Linked DNA regions of Homo sapiens: region 1 is linked to region 2. The links are contacts of gene promoters, found by promoter capture Hi-C in human tissues and cell types (Jung and others, 2019). All regions are on one chromosome and are shown on one strand. Each heading gives the region's core, a stretch centred on a gene start or on the middle of the fragment in contact. The rest is flanking DNA. Distances are from core to core; before and after follow the strand shown. Region 1 overlaps RPAP1 (RNA polymerase II associated protein 1). Region 2 holds the start of CHAC1 (ChaC glutathione specific gamma-glutamylcyclotransferase 1).

The links. The method cuts DNA at HindIII sites, captures the fragments that hold promoters and counts their contacts. A contact is called where the count stands out against the background at its distance.
Region 1: a contact is called between a fragment that was not itself captured here and the fragment with the promoter of CHAC1 in region 2, in 1 of the 25 tissues and cell types used here (spleen).

What each region holds. Positions count from the first base shown.
Region 1 is chr15:41,528,072-41,534,338 of GRCh38, forward strand. It overlaps RPAP1 (RNA polymerase II associated protein 1), which reads right to left. Exons shown (of 25, transcript NM_015540.4): 7 at 2,952-3,131; 8 at 1,793-1,908; 9 at 1,399-1,497; 10 at 164-265. Among named protein-coding and RNA genes, the nearest start is that of RPAP1, 13 kb to the right of the region's middle. The HindIII fragment of the contact is 5,608 bases long and covers 1-5,451 here.
Region 2 is chr15:40,948,863-40,954,938 of GRCh38, forward strand. It overlaps CHAC1 (ChaC glutathione specific gamma-glutamylcyclotransferase 1), which reads left to right and starts at 4,609. Exons shown (of 3, transcript NM_024111.6): 1 at 4,609-4,952; 2 at 5,366-5,401. The coding sequence starts at 4,722. It also overlaps the pseudogene ISCA1P4. RefSeq lists an enhancer at 3,818-4,411 and a silencer at 4,083-4,342. The HindIII fragment of the contact is 19,989 bases long and covers 1-6,076 here.

The sequences.
Region 1 (6,267 bases), core at 1,398-3,897, 580 kb after region 2:
CTAGAGGCTTTGCCCTAATCCTTCGTTTGCCCCCCTATGATCCTAGGTTGTTAAAAGCACATAGCTGGCTAGTGAGCCAGAGTGAAAAGGGCAGGAGATGGGGAAGTCTGAGGCTGTGGGGTGAAGGGAAGGGTGGGCAGGACCAGGCTGGCAATCCACTCACCCTGCTGATGACCTGGGCTAACACATGCAGTGCCAGTGCTCTCTGCTGGGAAACCTGGCTGCGGGTCAGGTGGAACAGCTCCTGTAGGGAATACCCCGCTCTCTGGGGCAGGGACAAGAAGTCAGAAGCAGCCAGGATACAGCACAGTGCCCCCAAAACACCAAGCAAGGTATCACAGGAAAGACAAAGATAAATAAGTGAAATCTGCCCTGCTTTCCATGGAGCCTCAAGCCGGTAAAGATAAGACTTGCATACAAGTAACCATGCCATGAGGCAGATGCAGAGGAACGTGATAACTGATGTTTAATTTGCGACCGGCGGACAGGAGAGAGAGAGAAGGGAACCTGGAAAATTAAATTGGTCTCAGTGGATGGGTAGAGCTTTGATGGCCTGACATGGAGCAAAAGGCAAAGGCATTTCCTGGAGCGAGTGGAGTCCTGGAGGGCCCTGAGCACAGGAGGTATGTGGGGAGAAGCCAGCAGAGTGGTGTAGCAGGAAGTGAAGGAGGCAGAGCAGCAGGGTCAGCAGGGACAAAAGGTAGAAGGAATATCTTGCCCAGCTGAGACCAGAACCTTATTTTGTGAGCAGAGGGAAGCTGGGAAACTTCTGGAGGCAAGGCATGGCCTGAGCTGGGCCAGAAGAAATCAGCACAGCAGCCCCGAGAGACATGGAATGGCAGGGGGGCGGAGAATGGAGGGCATGGAGAGTGAGCAGACCAAGGAAGCAAGGCCACAGTGCAGGAGGCATCATGAGGAGGTGACAGAAGATCGGCAAATTCTAGCAACTGACCAGAATACGGAGAGAGGATCAAGATTTTGAGCCTAAGAAACTGAATGCCACGCCTGTAATCCCAGCACTTTGGGAGGCCGAGGCAGGCGGATCACAAGCTCAGGAGATCAAGACCATCCTGGCTAACATGGTGAAACCCCGTCTCTACTAAAAATACAAAAATTAGCTGGACGTGGTGGCATGCGCCTGTAATCCCAGCTAGTCAGGAGGCTGAGGCAGGAGAATGGCTTGAACCCAGGAGGTGGAGGCTGCAGTGAGCCAAGATCATACCACTGCACTCCAGCCTGGGCCAGAGCGAGATTCTGTCTCCAAAAAAAGAAACTGAATGCACAGCAAAGGCATGAACTAGAACAGGGCACACAGAAGGTCAAAGGCAGTTGACCAGAGATCCTTTTCCATGGGGTTGTTAAAAGAGCTGCCCCATCCTCTCCAGTCCCATGCCTCACCTCTGCCTCCTCTCCATGGTGGTGCAGACCCAGGTGGGTGGGCAGGTCCACGTCAGGGGCCAGTAGTTCTCCCTGAAGACTGAATCGAGCCTGCATCCTCTAATGGGAAGAGAAAGAGGACTGTGGTCTGGGGGCTCCAGCAACCTTCCCACACCCACTCCCCACCTTTAATCCCAGGCCTTTCAGGACTTAGGTACTGACTCTACTTCTACCAGAAATGGGGCTTATCTGGCCTTGGGGGCCAGGCAGAGTGATGGTAAAGGTGGGTGAGAGCAAAGGAGAGATGCTTCTCAGGCTCTGGGCAATAGAAAGGCCTGAGTTCTGAGGGCAAGAGCAGCAGCTCCTCTCCTGCCCTATCTCACCCACCCCTTGTAGGCCAGGTGGCCCTCCTCACCTCCTGTGTCTGCTGCCGCCGGACAGGGGGCAAGTCCTGGGTCCAGTGGAGCTTCTCCAGCTCGACAGTGTCCATGTGCAGCCATTCTTTCTGAGGGGTCACGGGCAATGCCAGAGCTGGGGAGACAAAGCATGATAGTATTACCCAAACGGCTCAGCTCACTATCCACAGGGGTCCCCACCATCACCCAGCAGCTGCCACATCCACTTCTGTTCCAGGATCTGCCAGCTTCTACCCTCGGTTATGGCTAAATGGCATGGCCCAGGGACTGGAACTCCTGGGGCTGGGGTGAAAGTCTCAAATATGACAGACACACTCCATCCTGGGCTCCAGCCCCTTGCTGACCCCAAGGATTTGTTGGGAGGGGAGAGAGGAGGAGAAGGAGAAGGAAGAAAGAGAAAGAAAGGAGAAAAAGATGAAGAAGGAGGACCACATATGTCAGGAAGGCACCATCTCCACTTTCCAGTACCAGCCCTTAAAGGAGTAGGAGAGTGGGGACAATGAGGAGGAGGCAACTATACTGCTCCTGGGGGGCAGGATACAGAAACAAATCCCACAGCATTTTCCTCCTTCACGCCTACCCCCACCCAACCTGCTCAGCTGGCCTGGAGCTCCTCCGGGGGCATGAGGTTCCTGGCTCTCATAATTCAATTTCTTATTTTGTTAATCACTAATGAAATAATCTAGTTTCTGGGAAATGAGTGCTTCCACTGGCCTCTCTGCTTCTGGTCTGGCATGTTCATAAGATCTTTGTCAGATTCTGCCTCTCTTATTACTCTGGCCCTGCCATCTTTCCCCCAGCACTGTGAGCAGAGAGAGAAAGAACAGTGGGATGGACAGAGCCAGAGCTGGGGCAGCTACAGCAAGGACAGGAAGATAGTCTGCCGGGAGCGGGTGGAGTGGGATTCAGCCATCACGCATTGCTGCCTCTTAAAAGGGAAGGCGGAGAAGGGGCAGTAACAGGACAAGAAAACAGGAAGCATGTGCAGGAAGAAGACATGCATCAGCAATGAAGACTGACTTGAAGCCAATAATGAGGATTAATGTTAGATGTCCAAAAGCACAGAAGCTTCTCTCTTCTCTCATTTGCCAGGCCTAGGAAAAGGGACAATTTCCCCTACTTTTATCCACCAAAATATGACCCCCGCCTCCTGCAAACCTGGGGCTTCTGGCTCCAGCTTGTCTCTCTTCCTGGGCTCACTGGCAAAAGCTGACATGAGGGGTTCCTCCTTGGTGACATTAGCAGAGGGTCCTCCTGGCCTCTGCTCCTCAGAGGCTGTCTCTCCTGTTTGCTCTTGCGTGTGGCTGTGAGATCTCAAGAAAGCAACCAAGCTGGGGTCTAGAGGCGAAGGTAGAGGGGAGAGTGAGTGAGGGTAGATCCTCCCTGGCCTCCTACAGACCTGGAACCCGCTGAATATCGCCTGTCTGTGGGTGCCAAGGACAGGACAAGCTGCTTCCGAGCCTGGGCCTGAGCCTTCTGGGTGCTCCTGTGGCCCATCAATGACCCAGCCTTCTCACACCTGTGGGGTCACTAGGCCCACCTGCCCACCTGCCCACCTTTCCCTCTATCCCTCACAGTCCACTGGCCCAGGTTCCTATGCCTATCCCTTTGGTTTCAGGTCACAGTTCCAATGTAAGTGGCTGTAGAATGAATAAGTTAATGTTGACTAGGGCCAAAAAGAAGGCATTTACAGAAAGAATTTCCTTCTCTTAGCTAATTTATTTATGCACACACACATATATATATATATATATATATATATATTTTTTTTTTTTTTTTTTTTTTTTTTTTTTTGAGACGGAATCTCGCTGTGTCGCCCGGGCTGGAGTGCAGTGGTGCAATCTCAACTTACTGCAACCTCCATCTCCCAGGTTCAAGGGATTCTCCTGCCTCAGCCTCCTGAGTAGCTGGGATTAAAAGTGCCTGCCACCACGCCTGGCTAATTTTTGTATTTTTACTAGAGACGGGGTTTTACCATGTTGCTCAGGCTGTAAATATATATTTTTAAAGAGATAGGGTCTTGCTCTGTTACCCATGCTGGAGTGCAGTGGCACAATCGTAGCTCACCACAGCCTCAAACTCCTGGGCTCAAGCAATCCTCCCGCCTCAGCCTCCCAAGTAACTGGGACTACCGGCATGCACCACCATATCTGGCTAATTTTTTTTTTTTTTTTTGAGACAGAGTCTCACTCTGTCGCCCAGGCTGGAGTGCCATGGCACGATCTCGGCTCACTGCAAGGTCCGCCTCCCGGGTTCAAGTGATTTTCTTGCCTCAGCCTCCCGAGTAGCTGGGACTACAGGCGTGTGCCACCACGCCCAGCTAATTTTTGTATTTTTAGTAGAGACAGGGTTTCACCGTGTTGGCCAGGATGGTCTCAATGTCTTGATCTTGTGATCCGCCCACCTCAGCCTCCCAAAGTGCTGGGATTACAGGCGTGAGCCTCCACACCTGGCTGTAATTTTTTATATCTTTATTTTTTGTAGAGATGGGGTCTCATGATGTTCCTCAAGCTGGTCGTAAACTCTTGGCCTCAAGCAATCCTCTCACCTCAACCTCCCAAAGTGCTGGAATTACAGGGCAAGGCACCATACTGAGCCCTAACACGTATTATACTCTATAGAGGTGCTAGTATACAGTGGGTAACAAGATTGACTGAGTGCCTGGCATTTTGGTGAACAGACACTAGGGGTGAGGCATAGCATAGAACAGTATCACAGAGTAGAAGAGACTATACATATACTAGAGTATAGCTATAATAAAGCATAGTGTATACTATACCAGGGTAGTACAGTTATACATAGCACAGTGGTTAAAAAGTAGGGCCTCGGCTGGGCACGGTGACCATCTCAAAAAAAAAATCGCAGCACTTCAGCAGGCCGAGGCAGATGGGTCGCTGGAGGTCAGGAGTTCAAGACCAGCCTGGCCAACATGGTGAAACCCATCTCTACTAAAAATACAAAAAAATTAGCTGGGTGTGGTGGTGCACATCTGTAATCCCAGCTACTCAGGAGGCTGAGGCAGGAAAATCGCTTGAACTAGGGAGGTACAGGTTGCAGTGAGCTGAGATCGTGTCACTGTACTCCACCCAGGACAACAGAGCGAGACTCCGTCTCAAAAAAAAAAAAAAAAAAAAAAAAAGCAGGGCATATGAGACCAGGTAGATCTGGGTTTAAATCCTGTGTCCTGTGCTTCTTATAAGGTGTGTGACCTGGGTAGAATTTCTTTTAAATTTTAGGCCTCAGTTTCTTTCATAAGTAAAATAGGGTTAATACCACCTACCTCACAGGACAAGTTTAAGGACAGAACTGAATAATGCATTAAAGGTCAGGCACGGTGGCTCATGCCTGTAATCCCAGCACTTTGGGAGGCTGAGGTCGGTGGATCACTTGATGCCAGGAGTTCGAAACTAGCCTGGCCAACATGGTGAGACCCCATCTCTACTGAAAATAAAAAAAATTAGCCAAGCATGGTGGTACACACCTCTAATTCCAGCTGCTGAAAAGGCTGAGGCACAAGAATCACTTGAACCTGGGAGGCAGAGGTTGCAGTGAGCCGAGATCGTGCCATTCCACTCCAGCCTGGGTGACAGAGGGAGACTCTGAAAACAAAAAACAAAAAACAAAAACCAACCTGTGCAATATAGTGAGACCTCATCTCTACAAAAACCTTAAAAGAAATTCGCTGGGGGCCAGGCACGGTGGCTCACACCTGTAATCCCAGCACTTTGGGAGGCACTTTGATCCACCTGAGGTCAAGAGTTCGAAACCAGCCTGGCCAATACAGGGAAACCCCGTCTCTACTAAAAATACAAAAAATAAAAAAATTAGCCAGGCATGGTGGCAGGCGCCTGTAATCCCAGCTACTTTGGAGGCTGAGACAGGAGAATTGCTTGAACCTGGGAGGCAGAGGTTGCAGTGAGCAGAGATTGCGCCATTGCACTCCAGCCTGGGCAACAAGAGGAAAAATCCGTCTTAAAAAAAAAAAAAAACCTAGGCGCAGTGGCTCCAGCACTTTGGGAGGCCAAGGCCAGTGGATCACCTGAGGTCAGGAGTTCGACACCAGCCTGGCCAACATGGTGAAACTCCGTCTCTACTAAAAATACAAAAATTAGTTGGGTATGGTGGTGGGCACCTGTAATCCCAGATACTCAGGAGGCTGAGGCAGGAGAATCATTTGAACCCAGGAGGCGGAGGTTGCAGTGAGCCTACGTCGCGCCATTGCACTCTAACCTGGGCAACAAGACCGAAACTCCATCTCAAAAAAAAAAAAAGGCCGGGCATGGTGGCTCATGCTTGTAATCCTAGCACTTTGGGAGGCCGAGGAGGGCAGATCACCTGAGGTTGGGAGTTCGAGACCAGCCTGACCAACATGGAGAAACCCTACCTCTACTAAAAATAAAAAAATTAGCTGGGCGTGGTGGCAGATGCGTGTAATTCCAGCTACTCGAGAGACTGAGGTAGGAGAATCTCTTGA
Region 2 (6,076 bases), core at 3,359-5,858:
AAGCCGACCTCTTTGTCGTCTGGTCCAGGTGCTTCAGGCCGGAGCTCGGCTGCCTCAGCCTCTTTCTTTGGACACAGCAGGCCCATTGATGCCACAAGCTCCGGCACACAGCGCACTCAGGCCTCTGGGAAGGTTTTTCATCCTTCAGAAATCAGCAGCTTTATAAGGCAACTTCATCCTTTAGCATATGAATTAGCATCATTCCCTAGCTCCTACAACAGCCTTCCACTGTTTCAGATAAACATGCTGACTAACACCAGGAGGTGATGCCAATCTCTGGTAAGAGAAGAGAGAAGGAACAGATCCTCAGGAGATGAGAGGTAGCCACCTGGAGGGGAACAACAAGGAAACGTTAATTTGGGAAAGATCTAAAAAAGGAAACCACCACGTGCACATCACGTGCACATCATGTGCGACTCTGCAAGGTGGAGGTGATGCCTGGGCCCATCGCTGCTCATAAACTGGCACCTCTGTGGGTATGACATCGGCGGCCCCTTCCTGTGGGGCGTTAGAAGGAAAGACGGGAAGGGTTTGCCGTTGAAGTTACAGAGAGGAACCAGCTAAGTGAGTGGTTTGCTGCCTGGGAGTGTCCTGCTGGGAGGAAAAGAGACAGATGTTGTTGGCAAGAATAAGCAAGGAATGGGAACAGGAAAGACATGTTCCCAGGGAGACATTGCAGATCCCCTGGGCCAGCTTCTGTGGAGATTCCTATTTTGAGGGTCAAGGTTGAACTTGTGTTACACAGGACATGGGATATAGCCCTGGCCTTTTCCAAGCAATAGCCTCACTTATTCTACCTATATTTGTGGAGGATCTTCCACATGCCTGGCTTGTGTTGGTTCTCTTGGGCCTTCAACCATGAACCATACTCTGGGGAAGTGCTCAGGTGAGTGAGAGGCAGGACGCAAACGATTCCCAGCAAGGAGGCTCTGGAGCTGGCCCAGCTGCCTTCAGATCCAGGCTCCACTACTTTCTGCCACGTCACCAACAGGGTTTACCTAGCTTTCCTGCATGCTTATCTGTGAAATGATATTTACCTCACAAAGTAGTGAAGAAATGTGTAATTAGAATGGATGATGTAAAGGCGTTTAGCAAATTGCCTGGCACATGTTATACACATAATAAATGAGTGTTTCTGTTGTAAGCACGAGTTGGAAGGGACAGATAAGTAAACTGCAGTGGCGTAAAGTGTTGTGGGAGTGTAGAGGAGGGAGTGTCTGACTCTGCCAGGAGCAAGATCAGGTTATTGAGGACATTGCCAAAAGAGTTATGAAACACTGGGACTTTGGTCAGGGTGGGAGGAGGTCTGAGAACGGGCATCATGAAAATGTTCCCTAAATGTTTCAGGTATGCTATCCATCCCTCCCCCTCCAGAAAACCACTAATGACTCTTTAAAAGTAACTTTTTTTTTTTTTTTTAGACAGGATCTTGCTCTGTTGCCCAGGTTAGAGAGCAGTGGCACAATCATGGCTCACTACAGCCTCGACCTCCTGGGCTCAAGCAACCCTCCTGCCTCGGTCTCCTGAGTAGCTGGGACTACAGGTGCATGTTGCTAAGCCCGGCTAATTTTTAAAAATTTTTTTGTAGAGATGAGGTTTCATTATGTTTCCCAGGCTGGTCTCAAACTCCTGAGCTCAAGTGATCCTCCTGCTTGGCCTCCCAAAGTGCTGAGATTACAGGTGTGAACCACCACGCCCAGCAAAAATTAACTTATTATTATTTAAAAATTACTTTTCATAAAACTTGGAAAATAGAGGAAAGAATTGCTCACAATCCCAACACACTAGTATTTGCTGCCTCCCTATCTTTATTGTTACTGTTTTTAAGTTTTAATCATAGTTCATGTGAAAATTTATATTTTGCATTTTTGCCTTAATATGCAATCATACACATGTTTACTACGTTTTTTTTGTTTGTTTTGTTTGTTTGTTTCCCGAGACAAACTCGTGCTCTGTTGCCCAGGCTGGACTGCAGTGGTGGGATCTTGGCTCACTGCAACCTCTGCCTCCTGGGTTGAAGTAATTCTCCTGCCTCAGCCTCCCGAGTAACTGGGATTTCAGGCACCTGCCACCATGCCCGGCTAATTTTTTTTGTATTTTTAGAAGAGACGGGGTTTCACCATGTTGCCCAGGCTGGTCTCGAACTCCTGAGCTCAGGCAGTCTGCCCACCTTGGCCTCCCATAGTGCTAAGACTACTGGCGTGAGCCACTGCACCCGGCCCAACATACATATTGTTTCTAATGTCTGCACAAATTTAATGGACTATATCATATTTATGTAACTAATTATCTATTGCTGGGTATTTAGGTTGTTTTCTTTGTGTTTGTGTGTGTGTGTATGTGCACATTTTTCTGTCATGTGAATGGTAAATTGACATAATTTCCTTAAACATTTAGCTAATTTTGGATATTTAAGTAGTTTTTCTTCTTTTGTTTTTGCTATAATATGTAAAGGTCGGGCGTGGTGGCTCACGCCTGTAATCTCAGCACTTTGGGAGGCCAAGGTGGGCGGATCACAAAATCAGGAGTTTGAGATCAGCCTGGCCAATATGGCGAAACCTCGTGTCTACTAAAAATACAAAAATTATCCAGGCGTGGTGGCAGGTGCCTGTAGTCCCAGCTACTCGGGAGGCTCAGGCAGGAGAATCGCTTGAACCTGGGAGGCGGAGGTTGCAGTGAGCCGAGATTGTGCCACTGCACTCCAGCCTGGGCAACAGAGAGAGACTCCACCTCAAAAAAAAAAAAAAAAAAAAAAAAAAAAAAAAAAAGTAACAATGCATTGAAAATCTTCAGGCATATGGCTTTTCCCGTATTTTGAATAATTTCCTGAAGGAGTATTGGGTCAAAGGGCAGGGATATTTTGTGATTCTTGACTTGTATCACCAAGCTGCTTTCTCAAAGGGTTGTTTGTGCCAATTCAGATACTTCAGCAATATGTGGATACCAGTTTCCCACTTCCCGGACTACAACCCACAGCTGGTGAGTGGAAAAGAGGACATTCTTCTAAGAAGCTACCAACAAAGGAGGTGCTCATATGAACGAAAGGGGACAGGATAGAAGAGAAGAGGGAGACTGAATGTGGGAAATGGAGAGAAAGCGAAAAAGAAAGGAATAACCAGAAAGGACCATTTGCTGGTAATTTTTTTTTTTTCCTGATTGGAAAAGTAATTCATGCTCCCTGTAAAAATCCAGACTTTTTCATTACTGTTTAAGTTTGATACTGAAAGTCCTCCTCTGGTGCCAGCCTCTGCTAACTGTTTAGGTATATTCTTCCAGATTATTTATTACACGAATACTTTTTGTTTTTAAAGAAATAGCTTTGTACTATACACACTGTTGTGCAAGTTTCCCACTTATATCTGCGACACCTTCGGAATGAATATGTGAAGTGTGAAGATCACGTTTAGTTTAAATATTGAATTAGAATCGAATGAGAAGCCATGTTGCACATTGCCCCTGCCAGCCATCTCCTGGCCAGTTTAGAGAGAAGGCCTTCAGCTGCCTCTGTTTCCCTTTTACAGTCAGTGACATCCCCTGAGGGCAGTCCCTTGCTGCGTATTGGGTCAACCCCCGGCGGCCTGTGGACTCGGCTGGGAGGCCAGAAGCCGAGGGAGAAGACCAGTAGCTGGCCATAGTCTTGTGGGGGCCTCACTGGGCCCTCCTTGCCCGCTGCTCCCGGAACCTTGTGCCTATGGATTAATCATTGCTGCAAAATCTCACGTCCAGGAAGAATTAAACCCATCGCCTTGGGGGCAAGACTAGCCTGGCTTTTGCATCTTTATAGCCTTTCTCCGCAGGTGCAGCCACCACCTCCAAAGTGACTGCCGGTCGGTCCAAGCGCTCTAACAGGCTCTTCCCCGAGCCTACCTGGGCTCGAGGGGTCCCACACCTGGTCCGGGGCGTAGCCCATGTGAGGCCTGCAAGCTCCGGGCGCCTGGCCTACCTAACTCAGCCCCGCAGTCTCTGCAGAACCCCCTGCAGCCCCGTGGCCCAGTTTCTCCATTTGCTCACAATGGCCAACGGCGTGAGGCACTTGAGCGGAATGCGGACGGTGCCTCCGACAGCTTTCCCGCAGTGCATGATCTCAGGAGGGGCCCCAGAGACGGAAGTTTACGACGCCCAGAGCGCTCCTTCTGGACGTGCCCTGGACTCGACTTGGGACTGAGTCTGTGCCGCCTAGGCTGGCAGGGACTCGGCCAGATGCACTAGCGGCAAGGCTGGGCTGACACCGCCTGGGACTCGCTCGCCGTACCTCCAAGGGGCCCAGGTCATGAGGGGGCGGCTGGGGAGACGCCCGCCCGGTGCCCGCCCTGGGCCCGGCGGGTGCCCCCTGCCCGCCGCCTGACGCAATCCGAGGCGCCCTTGCTGCATGCCGGCGCTGGAGAAACCTCCCCTGCCGTTGCATCACTCCTGCCAGGTTTGCCACAGAGGTGGAGCTGAACCAATCAGCGGGCGCGCTGGGCCCGCGGCGCGGTTAAGTGAGAAGCAGAATCCGAAGTTGATTGGCCAAAAGGGGATTTGCCCCACCCCAATCACCGCGGCAGCTGGCCGCGGTGGGCGTGGTCTCCCGGCAAGAAGGTTTAAAGGGCGCCTCCATGGGGGGCGCTCAGCTGGAGCTACCGAGCGGTGCCAGGCCAGGTGTGTGCGTCCGTCGGTCTTTCCGTGCCCACGCCGGAGACCAGCCCCGGAGGCCGCCTGGGCCTATCCCTGTGCCAGGCACCATGAAGCAGGAGTCTGCAGCCCCGAACACCCCGCCCACCTCGCAGTCCCCTACGCCGTCCGCTCAGTTCCCCCGAAACGACGGCGACCCTCAAGCGCTGTGGATTTTCGGGTACGGCTCCCTGGTGTGGAGGCCCGACTTCGCCTACAGCGACAGCCGTGTGGGCTTCGTGCGCGGCTACAGCCGCCGTTTCTGGCAGGGAGACACCTTCCATCGGGGCAGCGACAAGATGGTGAGCATCCAACCGTGCCCAGGGGAGTGAGGGGGTTGGGGGCGGGATACTGGGCGCCAGTGCCCTGGAATGTCCGGGGCTCTCTGGGCCAATAGAAAGAAATGTGTAAACCTGTGTCTGGGGTTTGTGGCTCATTTAAATGTATGTGCCCAGTGCATCACTGTGATGGCTGGAGTCTGTGAACCTGTGGATCCCTGTGTTGATCACCAACTGGGACCACTGACATGTCAGTGTTTCTGGACGTTTCTCCTACATCCGTGCATCGCTCCCCCACCTTCCCCTGCATGAATGGGACTCAGCATGCAGAGTGGGGCACTTGGAGGCCCGGGTCAGCGGGATTGATAAAGGTTTCCTTGCTGATGGCAGAGCTGATTTCTAACTTGTCTATTTCAAAATATTTCTTCCCTCCCTAGCCTGGCCGTGTGGTGACGCTCCTTGAAGATCATGAGGTAAGTGCCCGAATCATGAAGGGGAACCCTGGCCCAGTGTGAAGGGGGACCAGCAGAGAGAGCTCATAGGCTCTTGGCTGCAGGCTAGCTCTGTCTGATGCTTCTCTGGCAGAGTAGAAACGTGTTCTAGCTCAGTGCTTCTCACCAAATCACATGAGGATCTTGTTAGAATGCAGATTTTAGTTCAGTAGCATGAGAATGGGTCCTGAGACACAGCATTCCTAACTAGCTTACAGGTGATGCCACCACATCCTGGACCACACTTTGAGGAGGAATCCTGTCTTCCCTGGTACTAGACCACTTTGTCAACTGTTTTTTTTTTTTGTTGTTGTTGTTGTTGTTTTGTTTGTTTGTTTTTGAGACAGAGTCTTGCTCTGTTGCCCAGGCTGGAGTGCAGTGATGCAATCTTGGCTCACTGCAACATCTGCCTTCCAGATTCAAGCGATTCTCCCACCTCAGCCTCCCGAGTAGCTGGGATTACAGGCATGCGCTACCACACTCAGCTAATTTTTGTATTTTTAGTAGAGACGGAGTTTCACCATATTGGCCAGGCTGGTCTGGAACTCCTGATCTCAAGTGATCTGCCCACCCTCAGCCTCCCAAAATGCTGGGATTACAGGCATGAGCTACTGCACCTGGCCTCAACTATGCCTTTTTTTTTTTTTTTAAGACGGA